Linked DNA regions of Homo sapiens: regions 2, 3, 4 and 5 are each linked to region 1. Evidence: promoter capture Hi-C in 16 types of primary human blood cells and fetal thymus (Javierre and others, 2016). All regions are on one chromosome and are shown on one strand. The core of a region is centred on a gene start or on the middle of the fragment in contact, and the rest is flanking DNA. Distances in the headings are between cores, read along the strand shown.

The links. The method cuts DNA at HindIII sites, captures the fragments that hold promoters and counts their contacts. A CHiCAGO score of 5 or more calls a contact.
Region 2: a fragment that was not itself captured here is called in contact with the fragment with the promoter of RBBP7 in region 1 in 6 of 17 cell types (non-activated CD4 T cells, total CD4 T cells, total CD8 T cells and 3 more); the score reaches 9.5 in non-activated CD4 T cells.
Region 3: a fragment that was not itself captured here is called in contact with the fragment with the promoter of RBBP7 in region 1 in 2 of 17 cell types (total CD8 T cells and naive CD8 T cells); the score reaches 6.6 in total CD8 T cells.
Region 4: the fragment with the promoter of ZRSR2 here is called in contact with the fragment with the promoter of RBBP7 in region 1 in 4 of 17 cell types (non-activated CD4 T cells, total CD4 T cells, naive CD8 T cells and 1 more); the score reaches 7.1 in non-activated CD4 T cells.
Region 5: a contact is called between a fragment that was not itself captured here and the fragment with the promoter of RBBP7 in region 1, in 1 of 17 cell types (activated CD4 T cells). The highest score is 5.3, in activated CD4 T cells.

The regions. Positions count from the first base shown.
Region 1 is chrX:16,869,035-16,871,771 of GRCh38, forward strand. It overlaps RBBP7 (RB binding protein 7, chromatin remodeling factor), which reads right to left and starts at 1,328. Exons shown (of 12, transcript NM_002893.4): 1 at 1,004-1,328; 2 at 42-186. The coding sequence starts at 1,019. RefSeq lists enhancers at 245-334, 1,344-2,022 and silencers at 555-894, 915-964, 1,295-1,604. The HindIII fragment of the contact is 7,607 bases long and covers 1-2,737 here.
Region 2 is chrX:15,670,817-15,673,553 of GRCh38, forward strand. It overlaps a transcript of CLTRN not described here. Among named protein-coding and RNA genes, the nearest start is that of CA5BP1-CA5B, 3.3 kb to the right of the region's middle. The HindIII fragment of the contact is 2,251 bases long and covers 195-2,445 here.
Region 3 is chrX:15,734,081-15,736,817 of GRCh38, forward strand. The region is part of intron 4 of CA5BP1-CA5B (CA5BP1-CA5B readthrough); the gene reads left to right. Among named protein-coding and RNA genes, the nearest start is that of CA5B, 2.8 kb to the right of the region's middle. The HindIII fragment of the contact is 3,678 bases long and covers 1-2,737 here.
Region 4 is chrX:15,789,120-15,791,856 of GRCh38, forward strand. It overlaps ZRSR2 (zinc finger CCCH-type, RNA binding motif and serine/arginine rich 2), which reads left to right and starts at 1,365. Exons shown (of 11, transcript NM_005089.4): 1 at 1,365-1,417; 2 at 1,815-1,894. The coding sequence starts at 1,377. RefSeq lists enhancers at 1,243-1,692, 2,351-2,737. The HindIII fragment of the contact is 2,263 bases long and covers 1-2,151 here.
Region 5 is chrX:15,808,126-15,810,862 of GRCh38, forward strand. It overlaps ZRSR2 (zinc finger CCCH-type, RNA binding motif and serine/arginine rich 2), which reads left to right. Exons shown (of 11, transcript NM_005089.4): 6 at 108-146; 7 at 1,075-1,193. Among named protein-coding and RNA genes, the nearest start is that of ZRSR2, 19 kb to the left of the region's middle. The HindIII fragment of the contact is 2,450 bases long and covers 110-2,559 here.

The DNA.
Region 1 (2,737 bases), core at 78-2,577:
AGTTAAATTTAAACAAAATAAAAGTTGCCAGAAACCCTTACTTAGTCACTTCAGGAAGCCACTGAACGGTAAGACTGGGCCACTGAAGAGCATGGGTCATAACCAGGTCATATAGAAACGGTGTATTCTTCTTCCAGATTTTATATTCTTCATTGATGACACGCTCCTCCACAGTATCTTCAAACACTGAAATTTGGAGAAAGCCCACACGATTAAGTGGCTGAGATAGATCAAAGTCAGAAATTGGAGGTCACCTCAAGATGGCCACACCTCATGTACTCTTTCCTTTTACCTCTAATTTGGACACGGACAACTAACTGCTCTTCCAGAAGGTGGAGAAAATACTAACAATCAGGAAGCCTATTTTTTCCATTGAGATCAATACCCCCTGCGTACACCATGTTGGGTAGTCAATTACACGGACATGGAAATTGTTTACCCTGTTACAGCTGTTCGCACCTGTTCTAAGATGACGACCTGTACGTACAGGGGCTGCGCGACCCAGTCGGGAAGACAAATGCACGTGTAGCAGAAGCCCACAGGCCTGGTCTCTCCAATCCCCATCAGGGGAGGCCCCAGCTCCCACGACGCCCGCCTCGGCAGCCATAGGCCTGAGGACCCCAGCAACCCCCGGACAAGGGCCGCGACCCCGAGGCGGTCAACGCGCGCGCGCGCGTAGAAAGAGCCGCGGCGCTCGCTTCCCAGCGGCGGGGGCCGCCTCCGCCCCGGGGCCGAGGGCGCCGGAGGGAGCGCAGCCGCTGGAGGAGGGAAGGGAAGAGGGGGGCCCAGCCCTCGGCCCCGCGCCCGGCTCCGGAAGTGCTCGGAGCCCTCGGCGCGGCGGTCCCGTCCCGCGCAGGCCCCTCGAGGCGCGCGCCCAGTCTCGCGCCCGGCCCCGCCCCCTGCTCCGCACGCCAATTCGCGCCTTTCGCCGGCGCGTGCCGCGGCCTCGCGCGCCCGCCGCCCCCCGCGGCCCCGGCGCGCGCCGCCCCGCAGGGCCTCTTACTCTCTTTACTCGCCATCTTGCGTCGGGTCGTTCGCCCCTCGCCGCCGCCTCGGACTCCTCTCGTTAGCCAAGAGCAGCCCGACCGCTGGCGCTCCTGCCTTTCCCAAGCGCGTCACACTCCCCACTGTCGAAAGCCCGGGCCCCGTCTTGCTGCCTGGGTGCTCCCCAGACGCCGCGTCCTTCTTTCCTGCCTCCTCCCCGCTCGCGGGTACCGAGGTCTGAGGCGCTCTTCTCTCTCTCTCCAAACTTGGAACGAGACTTTTCAACCCGCGCCTCCCAGCCCGCCCAGGCAGCTGAGCGCAGGCGCATCCGCCCTGGGAAAAGTGAGAGGAGGCGGAGAGGCGGGTCTGGGAGCCAACGGCTCCGGCGCCGAGACCAATGACGCGCGGCGGGCGGGTTTCACGCGGCGTTCGGAGGCGGGCTTCTGGGGGTGGGCGGAGCGTGCCGCGGCAGGAAGTTGGCGATGCGCAGGCGCGAGGGCTCGCCCGGCGCTCCCAGGGCCGGCCGCGGAGGCGGATGGGGCGCGCGGGGGCGGGGCGGATGAGGGCCCGAGGGGGCGGGGCGGATGGGGGCGCGCGAGGGCGGGGCTGATGGAGGCGCGGCTGGCCGGCTGAGTGGGGGCCGCGAGCCCCGGGGCGGCGAGCCTTGGGGCCCGCGGGGCGTGGTTGCTTGTAGCGGCAGCGGTGGTGGGGGTGAGAGGGGGGCAGGGAGGCTGCCGCCGCTTAGCCAAGCAAAATCTCAGAGCAAGAGGGGAAAATGGTTCCTGTTCTCGAGAGATTACTGTGCCTTCAAAGTCTCCCTGATAATCACGGACATGCAATTCTCTGCACCCCTGAAATGTTCTCCTCCAGCCGACTGGCCTTTCCTGGGGCCCGGTCGGGCCGAGGTGGGGCTGGTCTCAGACGGAGGAGAGCTTTTGGAGAGGCCGCGGGCGTTTTCTGCCTGCAAAAGCCGCCGGGCCGCCCTGTTAGGCTAAATGTGCAGCCTGTGGCGGCACAGGCCGCCGGCGGGCCGAAGCCGATTTACACTGTTACATTTTAATTTGTTCGATGTTTGGGTCCTTAAGATGATGGTTTGCGGCCTCTTCGCGCTTCAGGGGATTTTGTCCCTGCACTGGCGTTCCTTTCTCATCCCAGCCCCGGCCCCTGCTGAGTCATTTTTGTCACCTGCAGGGGTCCCAGCGCGACCCCACCCCAAGCTGGCGGAGCTGGAGAGAGCAGGGCTGAACTACCCTGGGCCTGCTTACCTGAGCCCTGCTCTGCTCAGGAACTTCATAGCCCCTGAGGAGTGTGTCGGGGGAGGAGAAAGCTGGCTGCAAGGCCAAAAGGGAAATAGAAGAAAATGAGGGCCAGGAGCAGAGGGGACGGAGTTGGGGGAGGCGACCAAGGTGCCTGCGTGCAAAGGGAACCGAAGTGTACGTCCAGCTCCGGGAGAGGCTCCTCTTGCAAAAGCACCCCCGGAACATTTGCTGCCTTGATACCTTTCCAAGTGCCTTCATGCTCAGATGCTATCTTGCAGATGCCGCTGTCATGCCCACTTTTCTGACCGGGACGCAAACCCAGACGTTAGTCAGTGGCAGAACCAGTCACATTCCCTTCTGTAGATATTTACTGTGTTGTTTCCGATACAATACCGTTCATTATTATAACGCCCTCCCCCCATTCTGGGTCAAGGAATCTTGTTAGTGCCTAAGGCTGAGGGGGTGGCTAGAGAGGGAAGAGAGTTGGAAGGGTG
Region 2 (2,737 bases), core at 70-2,569, 1.2 Mb before region 1:
TCTTGTAGTTGAGTTAATGGAAATAACCCACACAAGGAAGAACAGAAGAAAAAAGGGAGACAAGTGTGTGTGTGTGTGTGTGTGTGTGTGTGTGTGTGTGTGTGTGTGTGTGTGTGTGTGTGGTTTCTCTAAGGCTAAGAATGTAAAAATATATACATTGCAATGCATTTCATGGTACTTAATTTCCAGTCACAAGCTTATTAGAACTTCAGTTTATGATTCAAATTAGTCAACTCAGTTTTCTTAAACTATCATATTCATGGGCTACGAGAAATGCAAAAATGAACCAAATATAGTCTCTGCCCTTCAGGAACTTACAATTTTGTAGGACACAAAAGTAAATCACGATGGCAATAGATGCACATACAATTGTGAACAAAATGCTATAGGAACACTGGAGAAAAAGAGGATAAAAAGTTACTGGATTTGACAAGTCAATTATAAAACTGTTAACAAAAGAAAAATAGAAGAAAGGTTTCTCAATGATAATCAAGATAGACCTGGAACAATGGCAAGATGTTTAAAGATAAAACATGAAAGCCCACAGGATACAAGTTAAGGAAATCTGAAAACAAACACAAAGGACAGATACAGGATATGGCCAACAGCAGGGACTTGCTGGTAGAGTGGTTCAGAGGAAGATGGGGGAGAGAGCATCAGTGTAGATGCATCTGAAAAGCCAAGTTGGGTTCTGATCTTAGAGGTCAGAGAGTCTGGATTCTCCAACAATGGTCCTGAGAGGCTAATGAAGATTTCAATGTGGGAATGGGTTCATTGTAAATGACACAGAGAAGGACAATGGGAGATGGGAAGGACATTCCCTGACAGTGAGTTTCCAATGTGCCCTTTATTTACTAATCACAGGCTGTTGGACTGGCAGCCCACTACGTGCCCATGACTACAAAAAACAGGAAATTATTTTTCATTGGCCATCTTAATAAAAAGATAAATGAGCTTATTTTAATAATAATTTTAGAATATAGAACAGATGATGTTACAATCTTTTGGTATGCTTAATTTTATGCGCGCACACACACACACACACACACACACACACACACACACACAATTTCCAGTATCCTTGGTAAGCAAGAAACTCTATAATGTGGAATATTTTTGTCTCCATCACATATATCCCCTTTTTAAGATGAGAAATCATATTAAGCAAGGATATTTGAAAAGCTCATCAAATTTTGTAGGTTAATCAGTAGCCATAATCATTATGAACTTTGTCTTATTCTTCACAAGTTAACATTTTTCTACTTCAGAGAAAGTTAATCACTACCGTTTGGAAATAAAAATTAATTCAGATCAACTGAGTGAGTGTAATTCTGCCAACTTTATGCTCCTAAAGTAGCAATTTAAAGGACAGTTTCTTAAATGGGAAAAAAAAAGTATGTGTGTCTGTGTGTTTCATCTTGTGCATGGAGACCAATGCTTTATAATGGGTCTCATGTAGTTAAAGCAAGACATTTCTTTTACAGGTTTAGCTGGTTCCACTGTTGCTCAGGTGTAAGAGTTTTCTCATGATTTGGCAAGTCAATTTTCTCTTTTTACTAGGCTAACAGTATTGCAGCCATGGTCTATGAAATAGTATTTTCCATCCTTAATCATCAATTTGCCCACCAGTTGGAGGTCACCTAGTCACATTTAGCCCTGACAACAGGTACTTCTTTTGCCAACCTCTATAAAGGGTGTGGGGGCGGGGGCGGGATCAGACCACATAACTTTTAGGTTATATGCTCTCATTAATATTAAAGACATATGAATTAATCAATATCTCAGAATTTCTGATCCTACGTTTCGGCCAGTGATGACCCTGAACCCTCTACTGTCTGAAATTCATCAAAAGTCTTATGAGAAATGTTTTTGTGGACTGCCTAAAAGATGTGCACAAGAGATCCCTATTACTACAAATCAGAGATGACAGGTTGTTTGCAGCCATTTGCTCATCCCACACCCATGACAAACATTTTTTATCTATTTCAGAACTTTTTCCTTCTGTGCATGGACTCAGCCACCCCAACTGAGCTATTCAGTCCACTAATATGAATAAATGGGAGTTGACATGTGAGTTGAAACTTATGTGCCATTATGGGGAAAGATTATCTAAATGCTACCCTGAATTAAACCAGACCATTGTGGGGCTGTGTACTCAGTCGAACAGGAAATTTTGGATGGTTCATGAAATTGATTCAGTGCCCTGTGCTTTGTGATTATGCCAACAGTTTCCATTGAGGGAATGTGGGTGTAACAACTTATGACACTTATTTCCCACGTAGCTCACAGCGTCATCATGATGAGGAACTGGGATTTGCCTTGGGGCTAAAAATTATTTTTAAAAAAACAAACAGTGCTTCTCAAAAGCAAACAAAATCCTGATTGATTGGTTTTTATGAACACCGTAAAACTTTAAAATACTTGTTATCTCCTGTTTTCTATGGAAGCTTAGAGTGAGATCTCTTGCCCACCTTCAAAAACTGTTCTGGATCTGAAAGTGTGCATACTTGAGTGTTAATCTTACCATTGGCTACATTATTTATTCTCCCTCCATGAATTTCCCCTCTGGTTCCTTAAACTATAATACTTACTTTATACAGTGTTGCCTATATTTTGGTACGCGGCCTCAAATCATCTGGGAGAAAATAATGCTATAAAAATCAATGCAGTAATTTACACAGGCTGCACTTGATCCCATTTCCGGTGTGTTTAATTTTTCATGCAAAAAATGATTAGC
Region 3 (2,737 bases), core at 149-2,648, 1.1 Mb before region 1:
GCGTGATCTCGGCTCACTGCAACCTCCGCCTCCTGGGTTCAAGTGATTCTCCTGCCTCATCTTCCTGAGTAGCTGAGATTACAGGTGCCCACCACCGCGCCTAGCTAATTTTTGTATTTTTAGTAGAGACAGTGTTTCGCCATGTTGGCCAGGCCAGTCTCGAACTCCTGACCTCAGGTGATCTGCCTGCCTCGGTCTCCCAAAGTGCTGGGATTATAGGCATGAGCCACCGTGCCAGCCTCAGAGTGTCTTATAGAACCTCAGGATTGCATCTCCTGGCAGCATGCTTGAAATCTAGAATCTCAAGTCACATCGCGGAACCACTGCATCAGAGTCTGCATTGTAACATGATCTTCGGGTGATCTCTGGGCACAGTGCAGATTGAGAGGCTCTGGATACAACTTCAGATATGGTTGTCAGGAAAAACATATCTAAAGAGGTGACATTTTAGCTAAGTACTGAATAATGAGAAAACTCCAGCCATGTAAAGATCCGAGTAAAGAGTGGTCCAAACAATGGGAACAACAAAAGAAAATGTTCAGAGACAGGAATGAACATGGGAAGACCAGTATAGGTGGATCAGAGTGAGAAAGGGACCTGGAACTCTCTACACTCTGGTATTTATCAAAAACCCTGTGGTGAGAAATTATTTATTTATTTATTTATTTTTGAGACGGAGTTTCGCTGTTGTTGCCCAGCCGGGAGTGCAATGGTGCAATCTCGGCTCACTGCAACCTCTGCCTCCCAGGTTCAAGCAATTCTCCTGCCTCAGCCTCCCTAGTAGCTGGGATTACAGGCATGTGCCACCATGCCTGGATAATCTTCTATTTTTCGTAGAGATGGGGTTTCTCCAGGTTGGTCAGGCTGGTCTCAAACTCCTGACCTCAGGTGATCTGCCCGCCTCAGCCTCCCAAAGTGCTGGGATTACAGGCATGAGCTGCTGCGCCTGGCCACGAGAATTGTTGATTTTGAGTGACTGCACAAAGTTCTGCATGCAAGACCTCTATTTCTACAAAGCAGAGGTACCAGGTAGGTTATTGCATGCAGCCACTTACCTATCCTGCACCCACAGCATTGTTAACTGAGTACAGAACTTTTTCTTTCTGAGCCTGGACAAAGCCCCCAAACTTCTCAACATAGTTATTCAGGCAGCTACTACAAATAGTTCAGAGTTAACATGTGAGTTGAAACCTATTTGCCATCCTGGGGAAAGATGATCTAAATGCTACCCTGGATTAAGCCAGACCATTGAGGGCTTGTGTATTCAAGTGAACAGAAATATGTTGATGGTTCATGGAATTTTTTTTTTTTTTGATACAGGGTCTCAGTCTGTTGCCCAGGCTGTAATGCCGTGGTGTGATCACGGCTCACTGCAGCCTCAGCCTCCCTAGGCTCAGATGATCCTCTCACTTCAGCCTCCCAAGTAGCTGGGACTACAAGCATACATCACCACACTCAGCTAATTTTGTAGAGATGGGGCTTCACCATGTTGTCCAGGCCGGTCTCTAACTCGTGGGCTCATGCAATCCTCCTGCCTCAGCCTCCCAAACTACTGGGATTACAGGCCTGAGCCACTATGCCTGGCCAATTCATAGAATTGATTTAATGCACTGTGCTTTGTGATTGTGCCAACAGTTTCCATTGAGGGGATTTGGGTGTCACTCCTTATGACACATAGTTCCCACTAGGCTCACTACATCATCTTTATGAGGAAACTGTATTTCTCTCAGGACTAAAATTCAAGAAAAACTGCTTCTATAAAAACAAAACAGCCGGGCACGGTGGCTCCCGCCTGTAATCCCAGCACTTTGGGAGGCTGAGGCAAGTGGATCACCTGAGGCCAGGAGTTCGAGACCAGCCTGGCCAGCATGGTGAAACCCCGTCTCTACTAAAAATACAAAAATTAGCTGGGCATGGTGGCGGGCGCCTGTAATCCCAGCTATTTGGGAGGCTGAGGCAGGAGAATCACTTGAACCCGGGAGGCAGAGGTTGCAGTGAGCCGAGATCATGCCATTGCACTCCAGCCTGGGCAACAAGAGTGAAATTCCATTAAAAAAAAAAAAAAAAAAAAAAAGGCCGGGTGCAGTGGCTCACACCTGTAATCCCAGCACTTTGGGAGGCCGAGGCGGGTGGATCACCTGAGGTCGGGAGTTCAAGACCAGCCTGACCAACATGGAGAAACCCCATCTCTACTAAAAATACAAAATTAGCCGGGCATGATGGTGCATGCCTGTAATTCCAGCTACTCAGGAGGCTGAGGCAGGAGAATCGCTTGAACCTGAGGGCCGAAGGTTGCAGTGAGCTGAGATCGCGCCATTGCACTCCAGCCTGGGCAACAAGTGCAAAACTCTGTCTCAAAAAAAAAAAAAAAAAAAAGGGAAAAGAAAAAAAGCCAGTTTTTATCTTATGAACAGTAAAAACCTAAAAATGATTGCTATTTCCTCTTTTCTATGGCTATTCAACAGCTTAGTTAGGGTCAAATTTCTGGCCTACTTCTGACAACTGTTCTGGATCTGATGGAGTGCAAACTTAAATGTTAATCTTATCATTGGCCACATCATTCTCCTTCCATTAAGCTCTCCTTTCACTGGTTCCTTCCCCTATTTTTAAATCTACTAATGTCTATATTTTAGGACGCTGCCTCAAATCATTTGTGGAAGAAGGTGAAGTAGAACTACTTGTATAAAAATAAACTCAGTAATTTATATAGACTGTATTTGGACCAATTTCTGTGAAT
Region 4 (2,737 bases), core at 115-2,614, 1.1 Mb before region 1:
TTGATATTCTCGAATTGCACTTTATTTTGTTTTGTTTTTTTGAGACGGAGCCTTGCTCTGTTGCCCAGGCTGGAGGGCAGTGGTGCCATCTCGGCTCACTGCGGCCGCCACCTCCTGGGTTCAAGCAGTTCTCCTGTTTCAGCCTCCAGAGTAGCTGGGACTACAGGCATGTGCCACCACACCCGGCTAATTTTGTATTTTTAGTAGAGACGGGGTTTCACCATGTTGGCCAGGCTGACGAACTCCTGACCTCAGGTGATCCACCCGCCTAGGCCTCCCAAAGTGCTGGGATTACAGGCGTGAGCCGCTGCACCCAGCCTCGAACTGCACTTTAAATTGGATAGCTGGGCGGGCGTGGTGGCTCGCGCCTGTATTCCCAGCTACTCGGGAGGCTGAGGTGGAAGGATTGCTTGACCCCAGGAGGTCGAAGCTGCAGCGAGTCGTGATTGCGCCACTGCACTCCAACCTGGGTGAAAGACAAGACCCTGTCTCTAATATATAAGAAATGAATAAATAAATAAATTCGATTGCCAAAATTCTTGCTGTTCCCAGCATATTCCACTTTCACCTTTCAGCGCCTTTGCTTATGCTGATCTGACTGTAACTGCATTCCCACCCTTCTCCTTCTGGGTAAAGGGCATCTTCTTTCCAAACTCAACTCTTAGCATCAGAAAGCTGTCCCTGATACTGCAGTTGAGTCGCATGTGATACTGAAAAAAAAAGAAAAAAGGAAAAAAAAGAGAGCTCTCCCTGAATCCCTTGGTGGACTATGTTAGGTAAACTTCATCTTTGCCTGCATCATATTATGTATTGGTTCTTCTCTGCCCCCTCGATTGTAAACTCCTCAGGGGCAGAGGTAACAGCTTTGCAGCCCTGGGAGTTAGGTTTGCTTAAGGGACCAGAACAGGTGTGACTGGCAGGGAGCGAAGTCTGGAGCTTTGTCTGAGGCGCTGATAGGTGGATCGGCGGAAGGACGCGGAACCTGGACAGGTCGGAAATAAAGCCGGGCGAGCAGCTCTGTGCGCGATGTGACTTCATGAGTGGATGCTGAGAAAAGCGGCAGAGTACGACTTTAACCGCCTAGCCACAACACGTCCTGCTAGGGCGAGGAGGGAGACAGTGATACAGCACTGGGCAAGTGCTGAAGCGACAATTACTTCTAGGGCGGGGTAAAAGCCCCAGAGTATTTTTGCTGGAAGGAGGTATTTATTTGAGCAGGGTTCTGGAAGACGAGCCGCCGAAGGGTACCTCCGGCTTTCCGTTTCAAGTCCCACGCTGGTGGAGGTTGCTCGGTACCCGCGCCTGCGCGTGCCCGTCTCGACTCTTAGGCCCGCCCTTTCCTGCCAGACCTGGAGGGGCGGGGCGGTGCCGGCAAGATGGCTGCGCCCGAGAAGATGACGTTTCCCGAGAAACCAAGGTAAGCGCCGTACGGGGAGATGAGCAGGCGAGCGGGCCGATCGTGGGCATGGAGGATGTGGTGGCAGGAAGAAAAGAGAAGCTGGGCCAAGCTAAGTGAGCCACCGCGGCAGCTCCATTCCTTCCTGGTGCGCGCTCTGGTGCCCTCCCCGGACTTGCACGGGCGGCTGTGGCTCAGGCAAGCGAGGAGAGGATCAGGTTGGCGGATGGAGAAGAACTGTCTGGGAGTGGGAGGATGAGGCGATGATAGATGGCTGTTCTGTAATTAAAATACAGGAAGCAAGGTTTCTCTCCTCAGCACCCGAACTATTTCCTTTCATTGGGCACAGAGGAGCGGGGAGCTCGGGCAGCGCTGCATTGTAGCCGCTGATCGTCGTGTATATGTCTTAATCTTCCAGCCACAAAAAGTACAGGGCCGCCCTGAAGAAGGAGAAACGAAAGAAACGTCGGCAGGAACTTGCTCGACTGAGAGACTCAGGTGATGGACTCTTTATTCTGTTTTCTGTGTTGTGAAATTGCTCTGTCCACTCCAGCCCTAACTTGAAGCCCCAGTGTCAGAAGGAAGTCAAATATTGTGTCGGAGGAAAAATAGCTGTGACTTCTGCCCCCAAGTAGTTATTTAGAAACACATGTCAGAAACAATGTTAACATACTAAAGGCAGGAAGAGGAAGTCTTGGTGAATGATCGCCCACTGATTCTGTGTAACTTATAAAGTATCTAATATTACAGTTGCAAGCTTCATGAATTACAGCAGCTAGCACAGTCCTTGCACACGTAGTAAGTATTCGGTGAATGTTTTTCTTCGTAAAACCAGCAGGAGTTGAAGGTATTAATTAGACGTTTTGCAAGTTTTTCTCAAACTTGACTAATATGAGACCCTTGGTTTACCCAAATTATTATGTTATTCAAATATATATCAACATAATACTAGTTATGAAGCTCATTTATTTATTTTTGAGACAGGGTCTTGTTCTGTTGCCCAGGAGGGATGTGCACAACCACGGCTCACAGCAGCCTCCACCTCCCAGGCTCAAGCAGTCCTCCCACCTCAGCCTCCCTAGTAGCTGGGACTACAGGCATTCACCACCACACCTGGCTAATTTTTTCTTTTCTTTTCTTTTTTTTTTTTTTTTTTTTTGAGACGGAGTCTCGCTCTGTTGCCCAGGCTGGAGTGCAGTGGCACGATCTTGGCTCACTGCAGCCTCCGCCCCCTGGGTTCAAGCAGTTCTCCTGCTGCAGCCTCCCGAGTAGCTGGGATTACAGGCGTGCGCAACCACACCCGGCTAATTTTTGTATTTTTAGTAGAGATGGGGTGAAACC
Region 5 (2,737 bases), core at 85-2,584, 1.1 Mb before region 1:
GCGTGTGTGTGTTTTAATTGTTCCACTTGAGATTCTTAACCAGAGAAACCAGATGTGACTTACCTGACTTCTGGGTTTTTATTAGTCCTGTGTTTGCACCATTTTAGGAAGCTTTGCAGAAGATGCTGGATCAGGCTGAAAATGAGGTATTTTTAAAACCTTACATTGATAATTTGAGACCAATTAATGTTTCCTTAGAAATAATAGTTCCAGTAATGTTAGTTTCGTGGTAGGTTAGTTAGATCATGTTTGGATATCTGGACTCATGTTTATGATGCTTTGATTTATACAACAACAACAAACTTTATTGATGAACAAATACAAATGGTATTCATGACCCCTGTGGACTGGACCTGTTTAGAGTCCTTACAGTATGTTTAAGCAACATCACATACCGTTAGCCTCCAGTGGACGGTTTACCTTGAATCAGAGTAACTTCTATTTCTGTCTGTGGTGGTTCCCTAATAAGTTCTTGGACCCTTTTTTTTCTCTTTTTTTCTTTTTTTTTTTTTTGAGACGGAGTTTTGCTCTTGTTGCCCAGGCTGGAGTACAGTGGTATGATCTCGGCTCACTGCAACCTCCGCCTCCCGGGTTCAAGCAACTCTCCTGCCCCAGCCTCCCAAGTAGCTGGGATTATAGGTGTGCACCACCACGCCCAGCTAATTTTATATTTTTAGTAGAGATGGGGTTTCTCCATGTTGGTCAGGCTGGTCTTGAACTCCTGATCTCAGGTGATCCACCCACCTCGGCCTCCCAAAGTGCTGGGATTACAGGCGTGAGCCACTGCACCCGGCCTTCTTGGACCCTTTTTAGAATGGATGGAAACCTTGGCGACTGCCCCTGGTGGCAGTAGTGATACCAGATAAAGGAAAGTGACCAGGAGCCAAGAGAGACATGGAGCTCATGTCTCAGTACCGTTGTTTGTAAAGTCTTGATTGCCTGTTCCAACTTAAATGTTTGCATTATTAAATGAAACAATGTTTATCTTTGAGGAAAATATTTTAATATACTTTGAAACATTTCGTCTTTCATGGGTTTTTACTCCACCAGTAAAGTCATGGTTATTTTCAACAGTTGGAAAATGGTACCACATGGCAAAACCCAGAACCACCCGTGGATTTCAGAGTAATGGAGAAGGATCGAGCTAATTGTCCCTTCTACAGTAAAACAGGAGCTTGCAGATTTGGAGATAGGTAACTAATTTTGTTTTATCATGTCAGAATGAAGTGATTCAAAATGCTGACGTTTTTGAGTTCCCCTTTTGGGAGAGGCGCATGTTTCCATTTCAAATGTCCGTCATCAGACATCTGCTGCCTTCTTGCTGCTGCTCTCGTTTTCCCAGCTGATCATCCTCTGCTTTGACCATCCCTGTTCCCTCTATCCTTGTTCCCTGGGTGGGCTTAGCCTAGTTCTCTGAGGGTGCTTCCTTTGCATTCTGCATCTTTAGGAAGCCACTTTGCTTGTTGGTTTCTTCCTGAGCTTGCATTAGTCCATGGTGGACAACTGGGTTGGGGAAATAATATATTTGAAGAGCTTAGAGCAGCTTGGCTTTATTTTTTGAAGGGCACACACTGTCCCCAAAACAGGCTTTTAAAACTTGGCATGTGCCAGGAGTTCCAGGCTGCAGTAAGCTATGACCACACCACTGCACTCCAGCCTGGGTGACAAAACAAGACCCTGTCTCAAAAAAGAAAAAAAAAAACAAAACTTGGCATGTGTAAAGGGATATCTGTGAAAGACAGGATCCAAATGAGGAGAGGAAAAGTGTTTTAATTTCTGTTGTCAGTGAGTGTGCCCAGACTCAGGTACAGACCGTTGGGTTCAAAACGGGCTTCAGTGGCTGCCAGTTTGGGAAAGTTGCTTAAGCTCTGTGTGCCTTCGTTCTCTCATCTATGAAATGGGATTAAACATAGTCTCATCTTTCTGAGGGGGCTGTGAGGCCGAAATGAGCACACACACCCGTAGAACAGGGCCCCAGGAGTGCTTGCTGGCATTTTCATTATTGTGACTCTTGATGTTATTCTGTGAGACACTCTTCTTGTTCCCTGCCCCTTTTGGGTCAATGTTTTTGAAAGAAGACGTTCATGTGGAAACCTAGTGTTGATCTCTTCAGTCATTTAGCAAGTCTTCGAACACCTATTATATGCCAGGTAATGGTGATTTTTATAATTTGGCCTGTTTATTAATGAACAACTTAAAGTAGGTAAATAATTCCTAATGGTGAATGAGTCCATCTGAGGCAAAATCTGATAATTATCACCATATATTCTGCAGAAGAGAAGATCTAATCATAACCTTAACATCCTATTAATCCTGAAAAGGGATATGAATAGTAAAATTCAGATGTATTTAATCAGAAACCATATGTCATCTGTCAGCTTTACTTTATTCATAAAAGTATCCATGCTGTGAGGTTTTTTTCCTTCTTCTTCTTCTTTGAAAATATATCCTTCTCTATGGTTCTCTCCTTTTTCTTTTTGAATTTAAGCGTTCACACCATTTTTCATTTTTTAAGAACAGTGGTTCCCAACCCTGGATGCACATTAGAGTCATCTAGAAAGCTTTAAAAAATTATGTCCTACCTCAAGTTGAGTAAATCAGAATATCAGGGCCAGGCGCGGTGGCTCACACCTATAATCCCAGCACTTTGGGAGGCCAAGGCAGGCAGATCACTTGAGCTCAGGAGTTTGAGACCAGCCTGGGCAACATGGTAAAACCTGGTATCTATAAAAAAAAA